Linked DNA regions of Homo sapiens: regions 2, 3 and 4 are each linked to region 1. The links are contacts of gene promoters, found by promoter capture Hi-C in blood cells and fetal thymus (Javierre and others, 2016). All regions are on one chromosome and are shown on one strand. Each heading gives the region's core, a stretch centred on a gene start or on the middle of the fragment in contact. The rest is flanking DNA. Distances are from core to core; before and after follow the strand shown.

The links. Contacts are between HindIII fragments. The CHiCAGO score rates a contact against its expected background, and 5 or more counts as called.
Region 2: a fragment that was not itself captured here is called in contact with the fragment with the promoter of CTNNAL1 in region 1 in 2 of 17 cell types (monocytes and total CD4 T cells); the score reaches 5.9 in monocytes.
Region 3: a contact is called between a fragment that was not itself captured here and the fragment with the promoter of CTNNAL1 in region 1, in 2 of 17 cell types (fetal thymus and M0 macrophages). The highest score is 7.1, in fetal thymus.
Region 4: a contact is called between a fragment that was not itself captured here and the fragment with the promoter of CTNNAL1 in region 1, in 1 of 17 cell types (neutrophils). The highest score is 6.0, in neutrophils.

The regions. Positions count from the first base shown.
Region 1 is chr9:109,010,869-109,016,909 of GRCh38, forward strand. CTNNAL1 (catenin alpha like 1) reads right to left here and starts at 2,631. Exons shown (of 19, transcript NM_003798.4): 1 at 2,434-2,631. The coding sequence starts at 2,574. It overlaps TMEM245 (transmembrane protein 245), which reads right to left. Exons shown (of 18, transcript NM_032012.4): 18 at 4,267-6,041. RefSeq lists an enhancer at 1,819-2,322 and a silencer at 1,984-2,873. The HindIII fragment of the contact is 6,099 bases long and covers 1-2,987 here.
Region 2 is chr9:107,312,015-107,318,055 of GRCh38, forward strand. The region is part of intron 5 of RAD23B (RAD23 nucleotide excision repair protein B); the gene reads left to right. Among named protein-coding and RNA genes, the nearest start is that of RAD23B, 32 kb to the left of the region's middle. The HindIII fragment of the contact is 1,229 bases long and covers 2,173-3,401 here.
Region 3 is chr9:107,335,522-107,341,562 of GRCh38, forward strand. LOC124902241 (a long non-coding RNA gene) reads left to right here and starts at 4,686. Exons shown (of 2, transcript XR_007061717.1): 1 at 4,686-5,529. RefSeq lists an enhancer at 5,607-5,901. The HindIII fragment of the contact is 3,740 bases long and covers 1,222-4,961 here.
Region 4 is chr9:107,472,620-107,478,660 of GRCh38, forward strand. It overlaps the pseudogene RNU6-492P. Among named protein-coding and RNA genes, the nearest start is that of LINC01509, 9.1 kb to the left of the region's middle. The HindIII fragment of the contact is 665 bases long and covers 2,877-3,541 here.

The sequences.
Region 1 (6,041 bases), core at 1,381-3,880:
CATCCATGCCTTCTCTGAGCTTTTAGAGTATGTACCATTGATGATGTTCATTTGACACTTTGCATGTGCTGTTCTATACATGACCTATCTACCAACTAGAATATAAGCCCCTCAAAAAACAGCAACAAATAAGCACACAATAAATCCTTGCTTAAAATGCTTAAAATATCCTTGTGGATGAGATGGTGAAACATGAGTTGGGTAATAATACAGCATTCTCAGAAAATGAGACTTGTGGACATATGAGTTTTCTGGAGAACTGCTGTTTTAATCTCCTAACACTGAAACTTTAAAATCATTCTAAATTGTACTTCCCTGCTTTGTTAACCGAGTATTCTGGCCATGCTTAATACACTTCTTGATTTTAACTTTTTCTTGTTAAGGACAGTCAATTATGAGGAATATCAGTTATGGTGTTGTGGTAGAGATGTAGCTGTAGATACACAATGTGTGGGATGCAAAACCTCAGCTGTGACCCTGAACAAGGCTTTAACTGGAAAAAGAAAAAAAAAAAAAGGCAGGCATTCTTCCCCTTTGGCATTGACCTCTAACTCTCAGCAGTGATTTATACTTTTCTTCCTCTGCTCTCCTACCCTTCTCTGGCTTCTTTTACCCCAGAGTTACACAATGCAGAGCTGTAAGACTGATACATTTTTAGCAGTGGATACTGTGAAAAGTTGCCATTTCTCCAGATTATGACTTTCTAGCTTGTTTTTCCACTATGTACCATCTTTTTCTCTAGATCTCATTACTGCTTCTAATCTCTAGAGAGGACACAGCATAGTGTAGCAAAGAGAACCTTCTGGAGCCAGGGTACCTGGATTCAAATCCCAGTTTGGCACTTATTGAAAGCCCTAACAACAAATTATTTAACCTCAGTATTCCTCAGTTTCCTCTCCCATACCACGAGAATATATACCAACTTCACATGATTGTTATGAGAATTAATGAGTTAATATTTACAAAGTGCTTAGAACCTGGCCTACCACATAGTAAGCATTACATAGGTGTTATTTAAAAAATGGATAAAATACTATCAACTTGAACTCCATCACTCTCTTATCTCTCTGCCTCTTAAAACTGCTCCAGTGTTTCTCGTTTTGGTTGTGTTGTGCTAGTGGAGATAGGCGAGGAGCGGAGGGTCTGACATTACTGAGGGATCCCAGTGCCCCTTCCCACTGGTCAGAGCCTCAATGAGACACAGGAAAAGGGAAGGAGAGTGTCAGATATATTCATCACTGCTCCGTTAGCCATGCGAAGGTGAAGAAAATAGGGATGTTTATTTAACCAGCATAACAGGAATCCAGGGACATGTGTAACTGCTGTTTTCAAATATGCGCAGGGCTGGGCAGGAGAAGAGATAATAGCATTTAGAATTCTATGCAACAGCTACAGGCTCCCCTTCACTGAACATGTTTAAGCAGGGTACTGGTGGCCAGGTGTCAAGGATGCTAAAGAAAGAATTTTTAGTCAGATAATCTTTAAGATTTCTTCTACCTCTAAAATCTTGGTAATCCTAGTATGAGTCACGAAGTGGTTACAACCTAGATGTGAGTCACACATCGCCAACGCGCTCCCGAAGGCACAGAATTCACTCCCCACAGTGCTTGGCATCTTACCACAGACCTAAGTGAGGAATTCTAGCCCTGAAGCTGCATATAACCCAGCTCAGAGAAACAAAAACTTTCCTAAAACTCAGGGCGTCGGTTAGCTGATTGGCAAATACAGTAACGCACACATCCCAAACGGGACTTGGCAAAACGGTGTGCATCTGGATTAACTGTCATACAGTCTCCACGTCACTCTTCCACGAGGCCGGACAGAAGCGGGCAGAAGTGAGCAGCAGCAGGTTCAGGGGAAGGGGTAGGGTGGCCGGGATGAATGGGAGGCCAGCGAACTGACCTACGGCGGGGAGGGACAAAGGATCAGGGAGCGCACGCTGGGCGGGGAGGCCGGGAGGAATACCCCAGGCGGAGGAGCCGGGCTCGGGACCAGGCTGCGAACTGGTGACAAAGTCGGTTATCGTGGAGGGCCCTAAGTACCAGCGAGGGGCCCCGCGGGGGTCCTCTCTGCCTCGGGAGCTGGGCTCAACCACTCGCCCCGCGGAGGGGGCATCGCCCGGCCGGGGGCACCCGGGAGCCGCAGACCCGAGGCAGGTACTGGGGGCAAAGGCCCAGGCCGGCACCCCCGCCCCGCAGCCTCCCCTGCTGCCGAGTCCACTCAACCCTGCCGCCGGAGTTTGGATTATCCAGTCTCTCGCCGCCCGGGCCGAGGCCCGTCCCGGAGCCCCACACAGGCGGTCCGACAAGAACGCCGCAGTGCCGGCGCGGAAAGTGGGGCAGCGGCTGCCTCCCGTCCGGTCGTGCGAGCGGCGGCCGCCATCGCGGGCCGCGGCGGGAAGGAGAAGAGGGGCCGCGCCAGGCGCCACTTTACCTGAGAAACCAGCGGGAGTAGCGTCTGCTCCACCGAGCGAGTTTTGATCTCCAGTCCCGAGTCGAGGGCGAAGCCCGAAGAGCCGGAGCCGTAGACTGCTCCGGCGCCGCCAACGCCGGCGGGTCCGGGAGAGGCGGCCATGGCCCTCGGTCTATCCCGCAGCCGGGACTCCGCGCCGCGGCGAGCCTGCCGCCAGTCAGCCCACCCGCCCGAGGCGGCGGCGACAGGACACTCGCGCCAACCGAGACCCCGCCCCCAGGGGCCCGCCCCCCCAGGGCTCCGCCGCCAACCCTGCGTCCCCGACGCCCGTCACCGTATGTCCCCGCCCACCCCCGGCCTCTGCCCCGCCCGCGCAGTCCAGCCTGGTGTGGGCTCCCTGCAACCCCACCCCCTAAGCCGGGTCCCGCCCCCACATGGCCCCGCCCTTATCTCTTCTCAGACCCCTTCCATGGGTTCCAGGCACCTTCTCGCCAGGGTGGCGAGGAGAAACAAAACACATCTGTCACACAGCCACATGGCCTCCTCTTACTTGGACAGACAAGCGTCCCCAGCAAAGCTTCCCGTCCTCTCGATAGGTGACTCGTCCTAAATCAGCTCTGAATTCCCGCAAAGACTTCTGGAAGCTGTGCTGGGGTTGAAACTGGTAGACCAAAACCAGAATCAAGTCTGTTGGGAGGGGCCTTTCCCCTGGGACGGGAATTCCAGTGGTAATGTCTTCCTGGGGCTTCTCCGGAAGGTCCAATTTCCACTCCACCCTGCTCATTCTTTCACCATGTATTTCTCACAAACACTTTGAGCTGGATTGAAGGGGAAACATTTGATAATGCAATCATTAATGGAGTATCTGGGTATTCGGCAGGAAGTCAGTATATCTTTCACACTACTGTTTAGACTTATTCAAAAGAAATTTAAAAGAAACATGAAAAAGCCTCATCTACTGTTCAACACTACTTCTTAAAACTATTTTTCGAAGTTTTTTCCTAGTGCCAGGCACAGAGCAGTTTCTTCATAACTGTTCATTGCATGAAAACACCAAGTGTGTATTTCTGACAACTCACTTGAGGGGAAGGGTAAGAATCAGTTCTGTAAGCACAACTCTGAGCTCGCACAGAGCCCCACGATGGGGGCGGGGAGCTGAAGACTCCTATTCTAAGGTCTCCAGGAGCAAGGCCAAAAGGAGGTTGTCAGCAGTATGCACGCCGTGAAGGAATTCCAGACTTAAGCAACAGACTGAGAAGCATGAAAAAATGTTTTGTCAACTACCATATCTGCCAGTGAGAACCTGTCAGAGTAAAAAAGAATCTGAGGCTGGCCAGTCCACCCGGACACCTTGGCCTGGATCATTTCTTCTTCCATAACACCAGATTGATGAGCTGGGTACATCAACCTGAGGCATAAGAAAGCTCTTTCCCAAGCACCGTTGAAAGGCGCTTCACAGTGCTTCAACCTGTAGCTTCAGCTTCATCAATCTACCAGTGCTGCACAGCTGTCTTTGGTATTGAAGATAGCCAAGCTTCAGCTTCTTTTTCTTCATTCAAAAAGGACAGGTCCTCAATCCAACTTTTTCTTCCAATTCTTCTCAGCCAACCATCTCACCACTTCCTTACCTATCACAAGGCCACCTTCCCCTGTGCACTGAGGGCCCTTGACCTCTTTAAGGCGCCCAGTGTCCACTTCCTGGACACACCTTCCCTTACGAAGTTGACAGTATCTCCTAAGAATTCAGTGTACACAATGGTGCCGGAGGAAATGGCATAACAGAAGGCCTAAGAGACGGATGGATTCATGAAACTTTGGCTTCACAAAAGATCAAGTTTTTCAACACACAGGAGATTAAGTTTACCACATGATTCATTCAACACTAGTAATTTTATTTCAAAATATAAATATTTCACATTAATAAAGAAGTTACATCAGTAGGTTGTCAAAGCAAGTTAGCTAAGAAACAGCATTTGTGTGAGAACAGAGGGTATTTATTGTATTCGAATATTCTTTTTTACTTTTGAATTGCCTCCTTCACCTGAGAACCCAGGGATGATACATTTTCAAAGAGTTATGTAAGCAATTACAACTCTATATCAAATCTTAGTTCAAAATCAAATTGTACTGGAAATACACTTCAGTTACCTAAATAAGTGGCACTGCAAAGGGCAAAGAAGGGTTTTCTTTGGGATGGCTACAATGAGAGTTACATCTGCTGGGTCTCTGCAATAAAAAATAAATGATATTTGATAATAAGCCAAAATTATCAGGATTTGCTTCCATACTTTTCACTGTAAAATAAAAAGCTAGCAAAAAGCTAGTAAGAAACCAGATGTCTAGTAAAGAACTCTGGACTTGGAGTCAGAAGTTCTGCAACTAAATTCTGGCTCCATCATTTTGTGGTATAAACTTAGGGGAATATCACCAAAAACTTTTCAGAGCCTCCAGAGCCCCCCCATCTGTACAATAAGGATAATATTGTCTGTCTCACAGGGCTGTTACAAAAGGTGTCTGAAAACTATAAAGTGCCATACAAAAGCATTATTAAAATGTAATATCAATATATCACCACTGTATTTGCACATTAGTTGATCCTTGAAAAACCTGCAAAATTAAACACAATACTGATTTTACACACCACAGGTGGAAAAGAATCTCTATACCTTAAGTATAGCTCTAAACAGCAAATATACTTGCTTTCTGGACTTCAAGATTTATTACACACTACATGGTACCACAGTAATAGATCTGCCATTCAGTATTTCCATTAGGGATGTCTTCTCAAAGAGTTGTAAACTTGATCAAGGGCCATGTTTCTCAAAGGACCCTGTAGTCCTTTGAGATGCTCTGAGGAATAAAGAAGGGGAGTGCAGTCTAAGGTCAAACAGTGTTTGTCCCCTTTTATAAATTCACAATGTGTAATAGCATGTTCAAAACTCTTAGAAGTCCTACAGTAAGGAAACAAACTCAGCATTCCTTCATTTTAATTGACCATGCAATCCCCCACCCCCAACACACACACACTTTTTTTCTTACATCTATTAACATCTCTTGGAACTACTGCTATATGGAACACATTTTGCCAAAAGCTGCTCAACCATGAAGAAAAGGAAAGAGAAGTAGAACAACGGACTGACAGAAAAAAAAGAACTCTATTCTATTCTGAATTCTGTTACTAACTGGCTGTATGTGTATGTCAGACAAGCCACTTAAACCTATGAATTTGGGTCTTTCTCTAGAAAGTGACAGGACCACCTAATTTTAGAAGTCCCATTCTAGCACAGAATTTCTGACTCTAGTAGACAGAACAACTTGATTTATAATTCTCTTAAACTATCAAAAATAACCAAACAGTGGCTGCAGACAGCATGTGTGTTTTTTTTTTTTTTTTTTTTTGCAGGTTCCCAATAATCGGTAAGTTAATAAAATGAATATATTTTGATGGCAGAATGTTGAAAGACAAGAAACTAATAAAAAGTACTTGTTTTTAGCTGGAACTAGCATTTGGAAGTAATGCTAGCCAGAGGCTATTTCCACTGTGAAATGCACACTCAAAGTCCTATTGTAATATTATTTTAAGGGTCTTAGGAGGCCCCTCAGAGGAGACTGCAAGGTCAGGGCTAGAG
Region 2 (6,041 bases), core at 1,537-4,036, 1.7 Mb before region 1:
TTGATCTGTGTATGGATTTATTACAAAGGGTCTTTGAAATGGGTATGAAATTTTTCTAAGATCTGCCTCACACTTCATGTGTATTCACCATTAGACTTAATTCAACTTGATGGCACTATACATTCCCATCTACATCTTGTTGCTTGCATTGGCTTGCAGCAAAAATGCCTTTTTATCCCAACTTTTAATTTTACCTACTGAATAATGCCTTTCCATCTCCCATCACCCCAATCTGTCAAAATGAAGCAGCATTTTTTTTCTCCCATTGTAGCATCTCTGATACAGTTCCTGCTAATTACTGGTTTATTGGCTGGCAACTCCATTCCTAGTTTGTTACTTTTAAATGGCAGGGAGGGAGAAAGCGAGGAATAGGTAGAAACAGCAGCTTTGGTGCAGTACAGGCTTCTGGATTCCTGCTTAGCTTCTACAGCAGCAGGGTTCCAGCAGCAGTACCACCTCCTAGCATCTGAGTTGGTTCTCTGAGCTAGTTGGACTGGAACTCCGTGATGCCCTTGTTGCTGTGGAAAATGGCATGTACATTTAGTGGCAAAACGGCAGTTTAAATTATCTAAGATCGCCTGGGTGTGACAACCCCAGATTTTCATCTTTGAGGAGCAGTGTCCTAAAACCACTCTGCTATCAAATACAGTGTGAGTTAGTCTCTAGCCAGGAAAACAGAAACCACTCTATTTCAAAGAGGGAAAGGCTTAATCTTAGGAAATTGTTAGGAATTGGAAGGGCTGGAAAATAGGATTACCCAGAGAGGCAGTAAACTGTCTGTGGCCTCGGCTCCAGCTGGAGCCAGCTAGCACTTGCCCCTGATGGTGTTGAAGGCTCTGGCTGTGGTCACTGCTGCTGCAGCTGGAATGCATTGATGCTCCTGAGTTCCCGGGAGCCTGGGAGGCCATGCTGTAGCTGCTGCTACTCAAGCCTCTGTGACGATGTCTTCCCATTCTCAGCTTTATGGTCTCGGGATCCCTCTACATTTTCATCTTTAATTTACCCAAGTCTCTATGTTGATTCCCTGCTTTTTTATTTTATTTTATTTTTCTGATTTATCTTGTTGCTGTACAAATTAACCTTGCTTCTTTAAACTTTCCTTCTTTGGCTGCTGTGACACCACTCTTTTCCTGATCCATACCTCAGGCTCTTCCTTCTCAAGCTTTCTAGTTAATTCTTTTCTTTTTTCCTTTATTTTCTTTTCTCTTTTCTTTCTTCCTTTCCTTTTCCTTTCGTAGTCTCACTCTGTCGCCCAGGCTGGAGTGCAGTGGCATGATCTCAGCTCACTGCAACCTCCACCTCCCAGGTTTAAGCGATTCTCCCGCCTCAGCCTCCTGAGTAGCTGGGATTACAGGCACGTGCCACCACGCCCGACTAATTTTGTGTATTTTTAGTAGAGATGGGGTTTCACCCTGCTAGCCAGGATGGTCTCAATCTCCTGACCTTGTGATCTGCCCGCCTCGGCCTCCAAAGTGCTGGGGTTACAGGCGTGAACCACAGTGCCCGGCCAGTTAATTCGTTTTATTTTACCTGACTATTAAATGTATGAGTTTTCTATGGTTCCATTCTAGGTCATAGTTCAAAGTTTAAATTATGGGAATGACCAATACCATCCATATACTATATAGATTCCCCAAATTACAGCTGCAGTACAGATCTCCCTCTGAACTCCCAAACTCGTATCTTCACATTGTCAACTAGAAAACTTTAGAACCTCCATGACTTCAGGTTTCAAACTGACTCATTTTTTATTCCCCAGTCTGATTCTTTTCTTGTTCACTTCTTACTTGTACCATCATTCATTCATCCACCCTCTGCCTCTTTTGGCCCAGTAAGTCTGTTTCTTTTCTTTTCCTTTCTCCTCTCTCCTCTGTCCTCTCTCCTTTCTCCTTTCCTTTCTCCTTCCTTCCTCCTTCCTTCCTTTCTCCTTCCTTCCTCCTTCCCTTTCTTCCCCTCATTCCACAGTTACTAATGACTCTGTTTCTTAAAGTCTCTGGAATATTTGTTTTCACTGTCATTTAGTTGCCTTAGTTCAGGTCCTTATTTCACTTGTACTCTTGCATTATCCTTATCCACCTGGTCTGCCTCTTCCTTACCAGAGTGGAAAGCAACTCTCATGGGGTCTTTGTTAATTCTTTTAATAGTTCCTCATGACCTGGAAGATAAGTCCAAAGCTTATTCTTTTTAATTTTTAAAATTTGTATATAGGGAGTACAAGTGCAGATTTCTTACATGCATATATTATGTGGTGGTGAAGTTTGGGCTTTTAGTGTAGCCATCACCTGAATAATGAACATTGTACCAAACAGGAAGTTTTTGAACCCACACTCCACTCCCCACCTTTTTTGTAGTTTCCAGTGTCTGTTATTCCACTCTATATGATGTGTGCCTATTGTTCAGCTCCCACTTGTGAGGACATGGGGTATTTGACTGTTACTGAGTTATTTCATTTAGGATAGTGGCCTCTGTAGTTCTATCCATGTTGCTGTAAAAAAGACATGGTTTTATTCTTTTTGATGGGTGAGTATTATTACACACACACACCACATTTTCTTTATCTCATCCTCCATTGATGATTCCATATCTTTACTATTGTGAATAATGTTGTGATTAACATACAAGTGCAGGTATCTTTTTGATATAATGATTTATTTCCCTTTGGGTATATATACATAGTAGTGGGATTTCTGGATTAAATGATAGTTCTGTTTTTAAGTTCTTTCAGAAATTTCCGTACTGTTTTCCATAAAGGATGTACTAATGGACATTTCCGCCAGCAGTGTATAAGCATTCTATTTTCTCCACATCCTTGCCCAACATCTGGTATAAGATGGGGCATCTCATTGTGGTTTTAATTTGCATTTCTCTGATGATTGGTGATGTTGAGCATTTTTTCATGTTTGTTGGCCACTTGTCTGTCTTCTTTTGAAGAATGTTTTTTGCCAGTCATGTTTTTTGCCCACTTTTTAATGGGGTTATTTGTTTTTTTCTTGATGTTTTAAAGTTCTGGATAATAGCACTTTGTTAGATTGCCTAAGCCAGTGTCCAGAAGAGTTTTTCTAGGTTTTCTTCTAGGTTTTTTTGTAGTTTCAGGTCTTAATATTTAGGCTTTAATCTGTTTTGAGTTGACTTTTGTGTTTGATGAGAAGTCTGGGTCTAGTTTCGTTCTTCTAAATATGGCTATCCAATTTCCCAGCACCATTTGTTGAATAGGGTGTCCTTTCCCCGGTGTATGTTTTTGTTGACTTTGTTGAAGATCATTTTGGTTGTAGGTATGCAGCTTTATTTCTGGGTTCTCTATTCTGTTCCATTGATTGATGTGTCTGTTTTTATACCAGTACCATGCTGTTTTGGTTACAATAGCCTGGTAGTATTATTTGAAGTCAGGCAATATTGATCAAAGCTTATTCTGAATGACATATATAAGGTTCTTCATCACCACCTCTTTTGCCTCATTACTCTGTTTCTTGGCCAGTCTCTCTCGTTTTTGTTTTTTTTGTTTTGTTTTGTTTTGTTTTTGAGACTCTCTCTCTTTGTCACCCAGGCTGGAGTGCAGTGGCACAGTCTCAGCTCACTGCAACCTCCGCCTCTTAGGTTCAAGAAATTCTCCTGCCTCAGCCTTCCAAGTAGCTGGGATTACAGGCGCCTGCCACCATGCCCAGATAATTTTTGTATTTTTAGTAGATACGGGGTTTCACCATGTTGGCCAGGCTGGTCTCGAACTCCTGATCTTAGGTGATCCGCCTGCCTCGGCCTCCCAGAGTGCTGGGATTACAGGTGCGAGCCACTGTGCTGGCCTCTCTAGTTCTTTTTACAAGTCATTTGCCTTTGGACTTTTAAGATCTAAAAAGTATCACATTGCTTATGGGTATTTTTTTGAGATTGTATAATTTAACTAGGAAACATGATTTTAGGAGTCATAGTGTAATGATTAGGTGTGGAGACTCTTGACTGTCAGCCTGTGTTTGTATCTCTGCACCATGACTTAATACTTTTACGAATTTTTTTTTTTTTTGGAGACAGTCTTGCTCTGTCGCCAGACTGGAGTGCAGTGGCGTGATCTTGGCTCACTGCAATCTCCGCCTCCGGGGTTCAAGCAATTCTCCTGCCTCAGCCTCCTGAGTAGGTGGGACTACAGGCACGTGCCACCATGCCCAGCTAATTTTTTTTGTATTTTTAGTAGAGGCGGGGTTTCACCATGTTGGCCAGGATGGTCTCGATCTCCTGATCTCGTGATCTGCCCGCCTCGGCCTCCCAAGTGCTGGGATTACAGGCGTGAGCCACCATACCTAGTCTTTACCAAATTATTAATCTCTCCAAGCTGTACCCTCCTCATCTTTTAAAGGAGTTGAAATTAAACCTTTCTTATGAAGTAGTGAGAGAGAACTAAATGAGAAACACCATGTTAAAATAGTGCAGTTCTGATTTTTTGTAGCTCGTAATTTCGTTTGTATTGATACTGATTTCTGTATCTGGGAATTAGGTTACTGAACATGTATTGCTACTTGAGTTGCTTTGTGCTCGAATTATATCAGTAGATAAGAAAATAAATAATTAAAATTTATTGTTTTATGGGATGGGAAAAGGAAAGTCATTATTTTAAGCAAGATATCAAATGCTTAATCTGTTTGTGATATTTGGGGGTTTTTAGCTATTAAACACCTTTATTTTTGAAAATTCTGCAGAAAAAAATTATTCAACAGATACTCGGTTTCAGCTGTGTATCAGGGAAACATGCAGAATGACATGGTTTCCTGCACAGTCAAACTTGCATTCAGTTGGGGCAAGAAAAAAATAATGAAACATTAAAAAAAAAAAAAGATAAGTGATATTAACACAAAGGGCTTCCCTAAAGAAAAAACAGAAGGCTACCTAGGATGACTAGGCAATGCCTTTTAAATATGGAACTGAAGCATGTTGAAGGAACTGGCCATCTAAGATGGCTGGTGTTGTGTAAAGGCCCTGGGGCAGGAAAAGGTGTGGCCTGCTGAAGTAACACCGGGAAGATGAGTGTGGTGGGTGGAGGATTGTTGAGGGCTGGGAGCCAGAAATAAAATGAGGGGTTTTGCGCACACGCGTGCGTGTGTGTGTGTGTGTGTGTGTGTGTTTACTTGACTTTTGCAACTGGCTGAAGAACAGATTATAGATATGGAGACAAGAGTTGGAAACAGGGTGTAATCCCATCTAGAGACTGTTGTGGGCTTGTCTTCAGTGATGACAGTAGAGAATGAAGAGATGGGTTTGGGGTGTAATTTAGAGATAGGACCTACCAGGTATGCTGGTAAGTGAGGTGTGGAAGGAAGAGGAAAAGGAACTGAAATCACCAGGGTTTTTGTCCAAGTGCTTAGGTAAATAGAGGTGCCATTTGTTTAAAGAGAGCAGACAGACAATGGTGGGACACATTTGAGAGGGAAATCTGAATTGCAATTAGTTGAGGAATGAGTGGAATGTGAGAAAGTGGACACATGTTCAATAGCTATGGCTGTGATGAGAAGACAGCAGATGGTTCCTCAAAGAGGAATTAGGATGAAGTCAAAGGTGGGAGGTGTGTTTTTGTTTTAGAGTGAAATATAGGACATAGTTAACTACTGACCCAGGATAATTACACAGAGGGGTAAAGATGTTGGTGGAGAAGAGGGAGGATAACCAAATCCAGTTTGGTTTGAGTGTGAGGCAACAATAAAGGTAATGGTCCCCAGAACACAAGCAGAAGAAAGGATAGTTTTAAGTGAGGTAAGTTTATGAGGAAAATAGGTTTCATTTATTCAGAGTGTTGTCTGTATTGAGAGGAGGGAGCATAGGAGTCTGTAAGAAGTGACTTGGAATATTAGCGCTTTGGGCATTTTACCAACTTTGTATAGTGTACAAGATTTTAACTTTCTAGCTCCTAACCTCTCTTTCCCCCGTTTCAGTTATATAAGGTATCAAAGGGAAACTGTGAACTTGTTCCATCGGAGTTGATGGTTTGAAATACCATCCCTTCCCCAGCATGTTTTCAGAATTTGGTGTCTCTTCTTACCAGTTGCCTTCCCTGACCTCCT
Region 3 (6,041 bases), core at 1,842-4,341, 1.7 Mb before region 1:
AGTGCTGTTGTGCCCTTCTAGCTGCACCCCATAAGGTGACACAGGGTGTCAATTTGTCCCATCATTGGTGGTGGTCACTTGGACCCTGAGGCAGGTGGTGTCAGCCAGTCTCCCCTGGAAAGTTACTCTTTGTCCCTTTGTATTGGATAAATATTTTATAGGGAGATATTTTGAGCCTTCGTAAATATCCTATTTCTCATCAAAGTTTGGCCCATTCTTTTTAGTATTATTGTTTCTTGCCTACTGTAATGGTTTCCAAGTGGTGATTTTCAAATTCCTTCTACTTTATTAGTTAACATTGTCCTGTATTCTTACTCTTTTTCCCCCCATTTATTAGTCGTATCTGTATGGTCTTTGATTCCTATTTTATTCGATGGTACATAATCCCTTACCATCATTACTTTGATGTTGGAATTGTCCCGAGTTCTGTGATTGTGTGTTTTCTTTTTTTTAGTAGAGACAGGGTTTCACCATATTGGCCAGGCTGGTCCCGAACTCCTGAGCTCAAATGATCCGCCTGCCTCGGCCTCCCAAAGTGCTGGGATTACAGGCGTGAGCCCACTGCACCTGGCTGATTGTGTGTTTTCTTAAAGCTGGCTTCTGTGTTTCGACATGCCATTACCCTCTGAGTACTTCCCTACTTTCTGGCACAGTAATGTATTCCAGGCTCTTGCATTTCCTGTGCCCTAGTCCTGGAATCGGCTATTTATCAAGGAGCTCTAGCTCCCCTTAATGTAGACTGTATTTAGAAAGCAAACCCTTGCTCTAGGCGTGCTCACTGCTATTAGAGTCTCACTGCTCCCAAGCCGTCTAAGTGTGTCCACACAGTAAATACATCCTTACATTTACATTTGATACATAGACACTGAAAAGGGAGTTCACTCTGGTACCATTAATTCTGATCCAATGCCATAAGGTTCAGGCTGGGCGCGGTGGCTGAAGCCTGTAATCCCAGCACTTTGGGAAGCCAAGGTGGGCGGATCGCTGGAGTCCAGGAGTTCAAGGCCAGCCTGGGCAACTTGGTGAAACCCTGTCTCTACGAAAAATACAAAAATTAGCCAGGTATGGTGGTGCATGCCTGTGGTCCCAACTACTTGGGGGTGCTGAGGTGGGAGGATCGCTTGAGCCCAGGAGGTTGAGGCTCCAGTGAGCCGAGATCACGGCACTGCACTCCAGCCTGGGTGACGGGGAGACCCTGTTTCAAAAAATAAAAATGCCATAAGCTTCATTCTATCTTCTCCCTTCCCATATTTCAGACTCCTTCCAGGGCAGTGAGAAACTTGGCTCCCATTATCCTCAGTATAATTTCACCTTCCCTGAAGGTAACCAGCGCCCAGCAGCACTCTGCTCCCTTTCTTGTGCTGAGCTGCCACTCGGCTTGGCCACTTTCCTGCACAGCCGAGGCATTCATATTTGAAGTGGACTTGGAAATGGAAGTGAAATGTCTTTAGATTTCCTAGTGTAGCACTCCTATGATGGAGCTTCTAGGAAAGCTCAGCTACATGGGAAAGGAAGGGCCTTATTTGTTCTGCTCTAGTTGCTGTTCCACTGGAAGGTTACCACCTGCTTGGAGTTTAGGACCAGTGTGTTTCAGGTGCTGCTTGTGGTGAGAGACAGGGTTGGTGGTTAGGGGAAAAAGCAGCCCCACAGGCTAGGCTGGTAGTGCAACCCGCACCCTGGCATTGTGCCCTCCTCTCTGTCCTGGTGCATGTTGCTGTTCTGATTCATGCGTCCCGTGAACAAGGAGCAATTGCTATGTGGTTTGGAATTTTTCCCACCTCCTTTATGTTGCTAATTTTTTTTATATACAAAATATGGCCCCTCTTCCAGGAAGCCTTCCCGTGACCCCCTTTTCCCCTCTAATTTGGGCCAGGAACTCCTCTGGGTTCCCTCAGCTGCTTCTAAGTATCTGCCATAAAAGTGAACACCCTGAACTGGGATTATCTGCATTTGGTGTATCACTGAAGGTACTGAACGAGAGAAAACTGGTGAGCTCTCTCAAATTCAGGGCTGTGCCTTTCATCTCTGTATCCCCAGAACCTGGTGAAGGGCTGGACCAAAGACCAAAGGAGATGCTGAGGCATCATTGGATGGATAAACAGACAATGAACAATAGTTGGGATGCCTTTTGTCATCTTTCTTGTGGCCCTAAGCTCCTCTTTACCTTTTCCGGAACCCTTCGGTTCTGAAAGTGGCCTAAGATGGTCAATGAACAGTGCCTCAAAGGCAGCTCTGTTTTTCCTTCCTCAGCTCCAAAGACTTTTCCACCAGGTTCTGAAAGACTTGACACATAATGCAGTGAGCTGGCTGGTGGTGGAGACTGCAGGGTTCTACTGACCAGTTCCAGATGGGCATGCATTCTGAGACTTAGTTGGAGAGCACACTGACAGCTGCACTCCCAGAAAGCCTGTGCTGAGGCCAGGTCTGAGGGCCTGGGTTTGAACTTGGAGTCCGTCGGGCCCCAATTGTTATCTTCACAGCCACATCAGCTGGGTGACCTCAGCCAAATCAGTCTACCTCTGCTCTTGTTTTCTCATCTGCAAAATAGAGCTGCGGATGCCTGCCCCAGGTTGCTGGTGGAGATCAAGTGAGAGAGTGGATTGAAAACATCTTTACAAAGGCCAGGTTTGGTTTTGGATGTGGGTGCCAACTGCCTACCCTGAAGTCAAAGACCGTCTGGGAAGAGAAGTTCTCTTTGCCTTTCTCCCACGACGAGCGTGTTGCTGAGTTATTTCCAGGAGCGTGGGGTGAGCCTCTTTGATCTCAGGGTGCCATTGCCTTCCCTGCCTCACTGTGATCGGCTCAGCGTTCCCAAGCGGCCAGGGCGCTTCCCACTCAGCTGGGCAGCACCGCCCAAGCATTTGGCATTTGGGGAACAGAAAGTTTTTATTTTTATGAGCTGTTTCTGAGCAATGCCTTGTTTTCTCCTGTCTGTTTCTAGGCCACAGGATTGGCAGCTGCATCCAACCTCCAGGTCAAATTTGGCAGAGAACCAAGCAATCCTGTCAAACAGAATGCCCACTGCTGCTCCTTCCCATCTCGAGGAACTGTCTCTTCTCAATGTTTTCTTTTGATTTCCTCTGACAGTCTTGCTGCTCTTCCAGAGGCACAGGAACTCAAAATTGGGAAGGGTTTGAAGGTGACCCCCACGATCAAGTGCAGTGCCTCCCGCACGCGTGACTTCCAGCCTCCACATGCACACTTCCAATAACTGCACACACACCCTCCAGCTCAGGCCTCTTGGATTTCAGACACTCCAGTGGTTGAAGGGTCGCTATGTTAGGATCTCTGATCTTCCTCTCTAACCAGGCTATCCTCAGGTTCTAGTTCACTTCTGGGGGTCACCCTGAGCCAATGTAACCCCTCTTTCCTGTGTCAATCCTTTAGGTCTTTGAGAAGAGTGGTTGCGTTTTCTCTGACCGTGTCCCACCCTCTGGCCAAGCCTTCAGCTGAAAAGAGTCCCTCAGTTGGGGCGAGTGTATTGAGTCCTTCATTCAGATGAACCCGATACTTCAGGAGGGGCTGAGCAATAGGCACTACAGGGGAGCCCTCACCTCCCTTGTTCTGTGCATAATACCTCTATTAATACAGCCTAAATTTGGTCTTGCTGATTTGGCAGCCACATCACACTGTGCCCTTAGACTAAGTGACTGTGCTAATAATACACCAGACTTTTCAAGGTGTCTGTGCCTTTGGGGGTCATGTCTGACACATGTTATAGAAGCAGAAACAGCCTACTAAACAAATACTGCTGTTTTCATAAAGTTATGTTCTGGACCAAGAAAATTGAGCTATCATTTACAAGTCCAGTGTCTCACCCTGTGCTAAGTGCTCGTATGAGGCACTTTTGCAATTTTACAAATGGGATAACTGAGGTCAGTCAGGGTAGAGCTACACAGCTACCAAGTGACAGCCAGGTGGCAAACCTAAGTTGATTGATTCCGAAGTCACCCTAAGTGACACTGCCTCCCTATAGCCCCTGCTCCTTCACATTCCCTGAGCCAGTCTCTATCCCGCCTGTGATTTCTTTCTCTCTCTGCTGTTTTGACAGTTATTTGTTCCTCTGGTGATTTGCCTGGTTATTGCTAGACCAGCAGTTCTTAACATGCAGTATGAGGACTATTTTCAGGGGATGGTTATATGAAATCAAAACTTTTTTTTTTTTTTTTTTTTTTTTTTTGAGTCAGAGTCTTGCTCTGTCACCCAGGCTAGAGTGCAGTGACATGATCTTGGCTCATGGCAACCTCTGCCTCCCGGGTTCAAGTGATTTTCCTGCCTTAATAGCCCAAGTAGCTGCAATTACAGATGCCTGCCACCACATCTGGCTAATTTTTTTTTTTTTTTTTTTTAGTAGAGATGGGGTTCCACCATGTTGATCAGGCTGGCCTTGAACTCCTGACCTCAAGTGATCTGCCTGCCTTGGCCTCCCAAAACTGCTGGGATTATAAGCGTCAAAATTATTTTCATAAAAACACTAGTCCGGGCACGGTGGCTCACGCCTGTAATCCCAGCACTTTGGGAAGCCGAGGCTGGCGGATCACCTGAGGTCAGGAGTTGAAGACCAGCCTGACCAACATGGAGAAACCCCATCTCTACTAAAAATACAAAATTAGCCGGGCATGGTGGCACAGGCCTGTAATCCCAGCTACTCGGGAGGCTGAGGCAGGAGAATCACTTGAACCCGGGAGGCAGAGGTTGCAGTTAACCGAGATCGTGCCACTCTACTCCACCCCGGGCAACAGAGCGAGACTCTATCTCAAAAAAACAAAAACAAAAACAAAATCTTCTGGGTTTCTCAATTTTTAAGAGGGAAAAGGGCATAAGACCAAAAAACTTGAGAACTGCCGTGTTAGGTGATGGTTCTCTGTTAGATGTGTTAGATGACTCAGAAAAGAGTACCTGGGAAGGCCACTGGGGCACTGGTGAAGTGTCCCCTCTTGTCTGCTGGAGACATGGTTGGAAGCTTACATACCTGGTGCTGTGTGATGCTTCTCCGCCATTCTGCTCTCCATTCCTGCTTTCAGGAAAACAAACTCTAAACTCCCTGCTTGGCTTTCAGCGTACTTGCTCCAATTTACACCTTCAGTCTGGTCTCCCTCCCTCCCCACCGCATTCAACAGGGCTTCGTTACCCTGGCTTTTTCCACCCCTCTATGCATTTGCCCTCTGGTGTGCTCTGCCTAGAAACTCTCCCCTATTCCTCTCTCCTCAGTAGGCCAACGTTTAAAACCCACTTCAACGTGGCCAGGCGCGGTGGCTCACGCCTGTAATCCCAGCACTTTGGGAGGCCGAGACGGGCAGATCACGAGGTCAGGAGTTCGAGACCAGCCTGGCCAACATGGTGAAACCCCCGTCTCTACTATTAGCTGGGCATGGTGGCAGCGCCTGTGGTCCCAGCTACTCGGGAGGCTGAGGCAGGAGAATCGCTTGAAACCAAACAACGTTACAGGCTCTGTGAAGGCTTTCCTGCCCCAGAGTCAGCAGAGGATTGTTCCCTTGTTCCACTCCCTGAACATGTGGTACACAAACGGTGCGTATCTGACCATAGCTATTGATTTGCACATTTGTTTCATGGACATTGGTCTCAAAACCAAAAGCAAAACTGGCCTTGTCGGCAGTAGTGGGAGTTCAGCACCTATAGCTGACAAGGGAACTAAAAGGAAGTTTGCTTGAAGTCTTTGAAGGATAGAGGGTGGGAGAGGAGGGAGAGTCTGTCTCACATTGTAGGGAGGAAGTAAAACAAAAAGTCCAAGTGAGTGATGGAAAAAGCCAGGACCTGACATGCAGCAGGCTGAACACCTGGAGGGCAAGTGCTGTCTGCCATGCGCCGGCACGCCCCCTTGTGGTGAGGGAGAGCCGTGTAGTTTCAGGGGAGGAGCACAAAGTGGGAAAGACCCAGCATCCGTGGGTCGCTGAAAAGCTGTGGGAAATCGGGTCGCTGGAGGAAGGGAAGACGCTGGTCTAGAGACCCAGCTCATACTTGCCTCTATTGCCGAAACTACAGGGGAAAGAGGAAGAGAACTAAACCCCTATAACTTCAGG
Region 4 (6,041 bases), core at 1,959-4,458, 1.5 Mb before region 1:
AAGACATTGAACAGGAGTGTTCAAATATGTCCCCAGGCAGTCAGAGGCTTTTCTCTTTCATTCCTTCTGCAGATCCACTGTCTGACCATATCTCTGTGTGCTTTCTTTCTCTAACAAAGAGCCATGCATTCTAATTAAGGAAATCAATGAAACGTGCAGACCTCTACCCTATGAGTTGTTTGTCAGTTGGCAAATAGATTACTGGCTCGGTTTTGCTGGAGCCCAGGTAGACTCCACCATTCACAGAGAAGATCAACGTATCACACTTCCTAATCAGTACAACCATTCGACCAAGCAGTTTTATCAACTTTTTAACAAATAGTATCATTTGTGTATCAGAACAAGAACATGAAAATAAAAGAGAACTAAACCTCCAATGGGGTCATGTGTTTCCAAATGCAAATTGAGATCCAAACATTAAACAATAGAGATCATCTAATCCTTTTACAAAGACCCAAATTGCAAATCCAATTCCCATGCCAGAGTGGCTTTGTCTAACAAAGTCGTTAATGCAAAGAATCCCCTAGGCAAAGCCTCTTCTCTTTCTGTGGGCTTTGGCACAGCGAGAGCTATATGTGATGTCAGTTATGCTCTCTCGCTGTAAAGTTAATTGTGCTTAAAACAAAATCACGTGTTCTCGTGGTCTAGATATGCAGTTTCCAATCCATAGCAACCCAAGGTGTCTTGGTTTGAAAATTAAGACCCATTCTGACCAAATTATTAATTCCAACAGAATTTTGTGATATTTTTGAATAGGGCCAAAACCTTCATGCTGAATCTGAAAAACACATCTTAATATGCCTTAACATGCACCCGATAAACAAGTTAAATGTATCTAAAAAATAATAAGCAATCGGCCGGGCACGGTGGCTCACACCTGTAATCCCAGCATTATGGGAGGCCAAGGTGGGTGGATCATGAGGTCAGGAGTTCAAGATCAGCCTGGCCAAGATGGTGAAACCCTGTCTCTACGAAAAATACAAAAAAATTAGCTGGCCGTGGTGGGCACCTCTAATCCCAGCTACTCGGGAGGTGGAGGCAGAGAATTGCTTGAACCCAGGAGGCAGAGGTAGGAGTGAGCTGCGATTGCGCCACTACAATCCAGCTTGGGCAACAGAGCAAGACAAAGTCTCAAAATAAGAAGAAGAAGAAGAAGCAATCAAGAAAATTGTAGGGGGGAGAATGGTATATGTGGTTGTAGTTAACATGGTTGAGTCTTGCAAAGAATCATGTATCACTTTTTTAAGAAAGGTAACAATTTTTTTACTGGGGCTAGAAAGCTGATTTTCATTTAACTTACACTTTATGCCCTTTGCAGAGCAGTTGCAGGAGGAAACAGTATCTGTAAACCTGCGTATTCTTTTTTTTTTTTTTTTTTGAGACTGAGTCTCACTCTGTCACCCAGGCTGGAGTGCAGTGGCATGATCTCAGCTCACTGCAACCTCTACTTTCTGGGTTCAAGTGATTCTCCTGCCTCGGCCTCCCAAGTAGCTGCGATTACAGGTGCCCACCACCACACTCAGCTCATTTTTGTATTTTAAGTACAGATAGGGTCTCATCATGTTGACCAGGCTGGTCTCGAACCTCTGACCTCAGGTGATCCACCCGCCTCGGCCTCCCAAAGCGCTGGGATTACAGGTGTGAGCCACTGCGACTGGCCATATTTACAGATTCTTACTCATCTTTGCTTCTCCTGCCCTTTGCACAGTGGCTAGTAAAGTAGATCCTTGAATTGATTACATGTGTTTGAATCAATTGCATGGAAAGAGAAAGTGGAACAAAGCCAGAATGATACTATCACATTTTGAGGGAATGGTTCCTATGTTCTCTCTAGAGGGAACACAGTGACCAGTGAGTAGTCCTGTCCTAGCTGGCCGGTAACAGAGCACTATACAGAAGGATGATAAAGCACAGTAAAATACTTTTTTGGATGTTAGAGCACAACATTACATTGAATTTAGAACTTTCCAGGGCCAGGCACTGTGGCTCATGCCTGTAATCCTAGCACTTTGAGAGGTCGAGGCCCTTAAGCCCAGGAGTTAGAGACCAGCCTGGGCAACATAGGGATACCCTTGTCTCTACAAAATAATTTTTTAAAAAAATTAGCCAGGTATGGTGGTGCATGTCTGTGGTCTCAGCTACTTGGGGGGCTGAGAGGGAGAATCTCTTGAGCCCAGGCGGTTGAGGCTGCAGTGTGCTGTGATTGCACCACTCAGCCTGGGTGACAGGGTGAGACCTCATCCCCCATCTCAAAAAAAGGAAAAAAAACAAAAAAACAGAACTTTCCTCTGAAAGCCATCTTTTCTGCATGGTGTTTTTTGTTTTGTTGTTGTTTCTTTGTTTGTTTGTTTAGAAACTGATGTTTATTTTCCATCAACCTTATTTCCATGTTGCTTAAGAGCCTGTGCAAGAACAGAAAAATATGGAACACTTCACGAATTTGCATGTCATCCTTGCGCAGGGGCCATGCTAATCTCTGTATTTTTCCAATTTTAGGATATGTGCTGCCGAGGTGAGCATGGTGTTTTTTGTTTGGTTGGTTGGTTGGTTTTGTTTTGTTTTTGAGACAGTCTCACTCTGTCACCCAGGCTGGAGTGCAGTGGCATGATCTCAGCTCACTGCAACCTCTGCCTCCCAGGTTCAAGCAATTATCTTGCCTCAGCCTCCTAAGTAGCTGGGATTACTGGTGCACGACACCATGCCCGGCTAATTTTTGTATTTTCAATAGAGATAGGGCTTCGCCATGTTGGCCACGCCGGTCTGGAACTCCTGATCTGAAGTGATCCACCCACCTTGGCCTCCCAAAGTGTTGGGCTTACAGGCATGAGCCACCACACCCAGCCAGCAAGATGTTTTTGATCATCTTGATTCCTCTAAGCTTCCCTTGGGCTGTTAGGATGAAGCCATGGATGATTGGCCTGTTAAGTAAATCAGATCTAGGTGCTGGTTCCTCAGATGTCAACTTGATGTGACCTTGGGCAAGGTCACAAGTCCTTTATCTGGGTCTTTTCCTTGAGTTAAATGGTCTTGAAGATGCTTTCCTTTTCAAACGTCTTACGTAATTTTATTTTATTTTTGAGACAGGGTCTTGCTCTGTCACCCAGGTTGGAGTGCAGTAAAACAATCATAGCTCACTGCAGCCTCAGCCTCCTGGGCTCAAGGGATCTTCCCACCTCAGCCTCTTGAGGAGCCAGAACCACAGGAACATGCCACCACTCCTGGCTAATTTTGTTATTTTTTTATTTTATTTTTTATTTTTTGGAGAGACAGAGTCTCCCTATATTGACCAGGATGGTTTTGAACTCCTGGTTTCAAGTGATCCTCCCACCTCTGCCTCCCAAAGTATTGGCATTATAGTTGTGAGCTACCTACGTAATTTTACAGCTTCAGTCCTTGCAATGTTACCCATTCCTAGGTGAGGCGGTAACAGTGCCTCAAAGGCAGGGCAATGGTCAATTCCGCGCACTGTCAGAGTGAGTTTATTTAGATGTATTCAGAGGTCAGAAAACTACTGTCATCCAGGCAAACTAGAAGAGTCTCAAGCTTGAATTGGAGCAAACCAAATGGGAGGGTTTCACAGCACCCAAAGCTAAACCTTCCTGTTTGGGCAGACTGGCCCACTCAATATCCTAGAGTAGAAAGTACCCTCTTTTAGCTGGTATGGTGGCTCACGCCTATAATCGCAGCACTTTGGGAGGCCGAGGCGGGTGGATCATGAGGTCAGGAAAGTACCCTCTTTTAGCTTTTATTTTATTTTATTATTATTTTTTTGAGATGGAGTCTCGCTCTGTTGCCCAGGCTGCAGTGCAGTGGCACGATCTTGGCTCACTGCAACCTCCGCCTCCCGGTTTCAAGCGAGTCTCCTGACTCAGCCTCCTGAGTAGCTGGGATTACAGGTGCCCACCACCACGCCCAGGTGATTTTTGTATTTTTAGTAGAGATGGGGTTTCACCATGTTGGTCAGCCTGGTCTTGAACTCCTGACCTCAAGTGATTCACCTGCCTCGGCCTCCCAAAGTGCTGGGATTACAGGCGTGAGCCACCGTGCCTGGCCTAAGCTTTTAAAGTGCAATTTTTTTCTTTTTTTTTTTAGCCTTCATTATTTGTCATATGTCCATGGTACACATACCTTTTTTCTTGAAAGGAGGCCCAATGGGTCATCCAAAAAAAGGATAAAATATCTCCTTTCCCTGCTGGGTGCAGTGGCTCATGCCTGTAATCCCAGCACTTTGGGAGGCTGAGGCAGGTGGATCACGAGGTCAGGAAATCGAGACCATCCAGGCTAACACGGTGAAACCCCGTCTCTACTAAAAATACAAAAAAAATTAGCCAGGCATGGTGGCAGGTGCCTGTAGTCCCAGATACTTGGGAGGCTGAGGCAGGAGAATGGCGTGAACCGGGGAGGTGGAACTTGCAGTGAGCTGAGATGGCACCACTGCACTCCAGCCTGGGCAACTGAGCAAGACTCTGTCTCAAAAAAAAAAAAATCTCCTTTCCCCAAATTTTGGCATCCTGGAGGACATGCCCAGTGGTCTCTTAATTGCTTCCTGTAGGTCACCTGACATCCATCTGTCTTCCCCAACACACAACAAACCCCTCAAATGAACAAAACTCTTTCCAGAGTCAATGCAGAGAATTACATGGCAAGGAAGAGTTCACAAAAAGGAGATGCCAGGATTTTGAGACAGAGTCTCACTCTGTCACCCAGGCTGGAGTGCAGTGGCGTGATCTCAGCTGACTGCAACCTCTGCCTCCCAGGATCAAGCAATTCTCTTGTCTCAGCCTCCTAAGTAGCTGGGATTACAGGTGCAGGCCACCATGCCCGGCTAATTTTTGTATTTTCAATAGGGATGGGGTTTCACCATGTTGGCCACGCTGGTCTAGAACTCCTGATCTCAAGTGATCCACCCACTTCGGCCTCCCAAAGTGTGGGATTGACTCTGGAAAGAGTTTTGTTCATTTGAGGGGTTTGTTGTGTGTTGAGGAAGGCAGATGGATGTCAGGCGACCTACAGGAAGCAATTGAGAGACCACTGGGCCTGTCCTCCAGGATGCCAAAATTTGGGGAAAGGAGATATTTTATCCTTTCCTTGGATAACCCAGGATTTTGGCTAAATATTCAGTCAATGATTACTTTTATTCAATTAAGTTTAGTAACTGAGGGTATTCAAGGACACATCAAGAAACCTCCTAGTGCCCTCCAGAAGCTCATGTCTTTAGGGGAAGCCAGACCCATAAGACCTTATAATAGACTGGGTGCAGTGGCTCACACCTGTAATCCCAGTACTTTGGGAGGCCAAAGCAGGAGGATCGTTTGAGGCCAGGAGTTAAGAGACCAGCCTGGGCAATATAGTGAGACCCCATCTATACAGAAAAATAATAATGAAATTAACCAGAAGTAGTGGCACATGCCTGTGGTTCCAGCTCCTCAGGAGGCTGAGATGGGAGGATCATTTGAGCTCAGCAGTTTGAGGTTGCTGTGAGCCATGTTTGCACCACTGCCCTTCAGCCTGGGCAACAGAGCAAGACCTTGTCTCAAACAAACAAACAAAATACACAGAAAAACCCCACATAACCTTGTAATACACACGAATAAGGGTTTAATGCAAGATCTAAATAGAATGGAGGTGTATTCTTAAGAGCTGGGCTTTTAAGAGACATATAGGCTTTTGTCAGGGTAGTAGGGGTCTTTCCAGAAGCAGTGGAGACCAGTATCTGCAGGCAAGTTTCAAATGCTGAAACAGCCATGTGCACTGGAGGACCAGAAGTTGTTGAGCATGGCAGGTTTATCTAAGGAGGAACTAGATAGGGTCTTTTGTTATTGTTGTTGTTGAGACGGAGTTTCACTCTTGTCGCCCAGGCTGGAGTGCAGTGGCATGATCTCAGCCCACTGCCACCTCCACCTCGGGTTCAAGCAATACTCCTACTTCAGCCTCCCAAGTAGCTGGGATAACAGGCTCCTGCCACCATGCCCAGCTAATTTTTTTTTTTTTTTGAGACGGAGTCTTGCTCTTGTCACCCGGACTGGAGTGCAATGGCACAA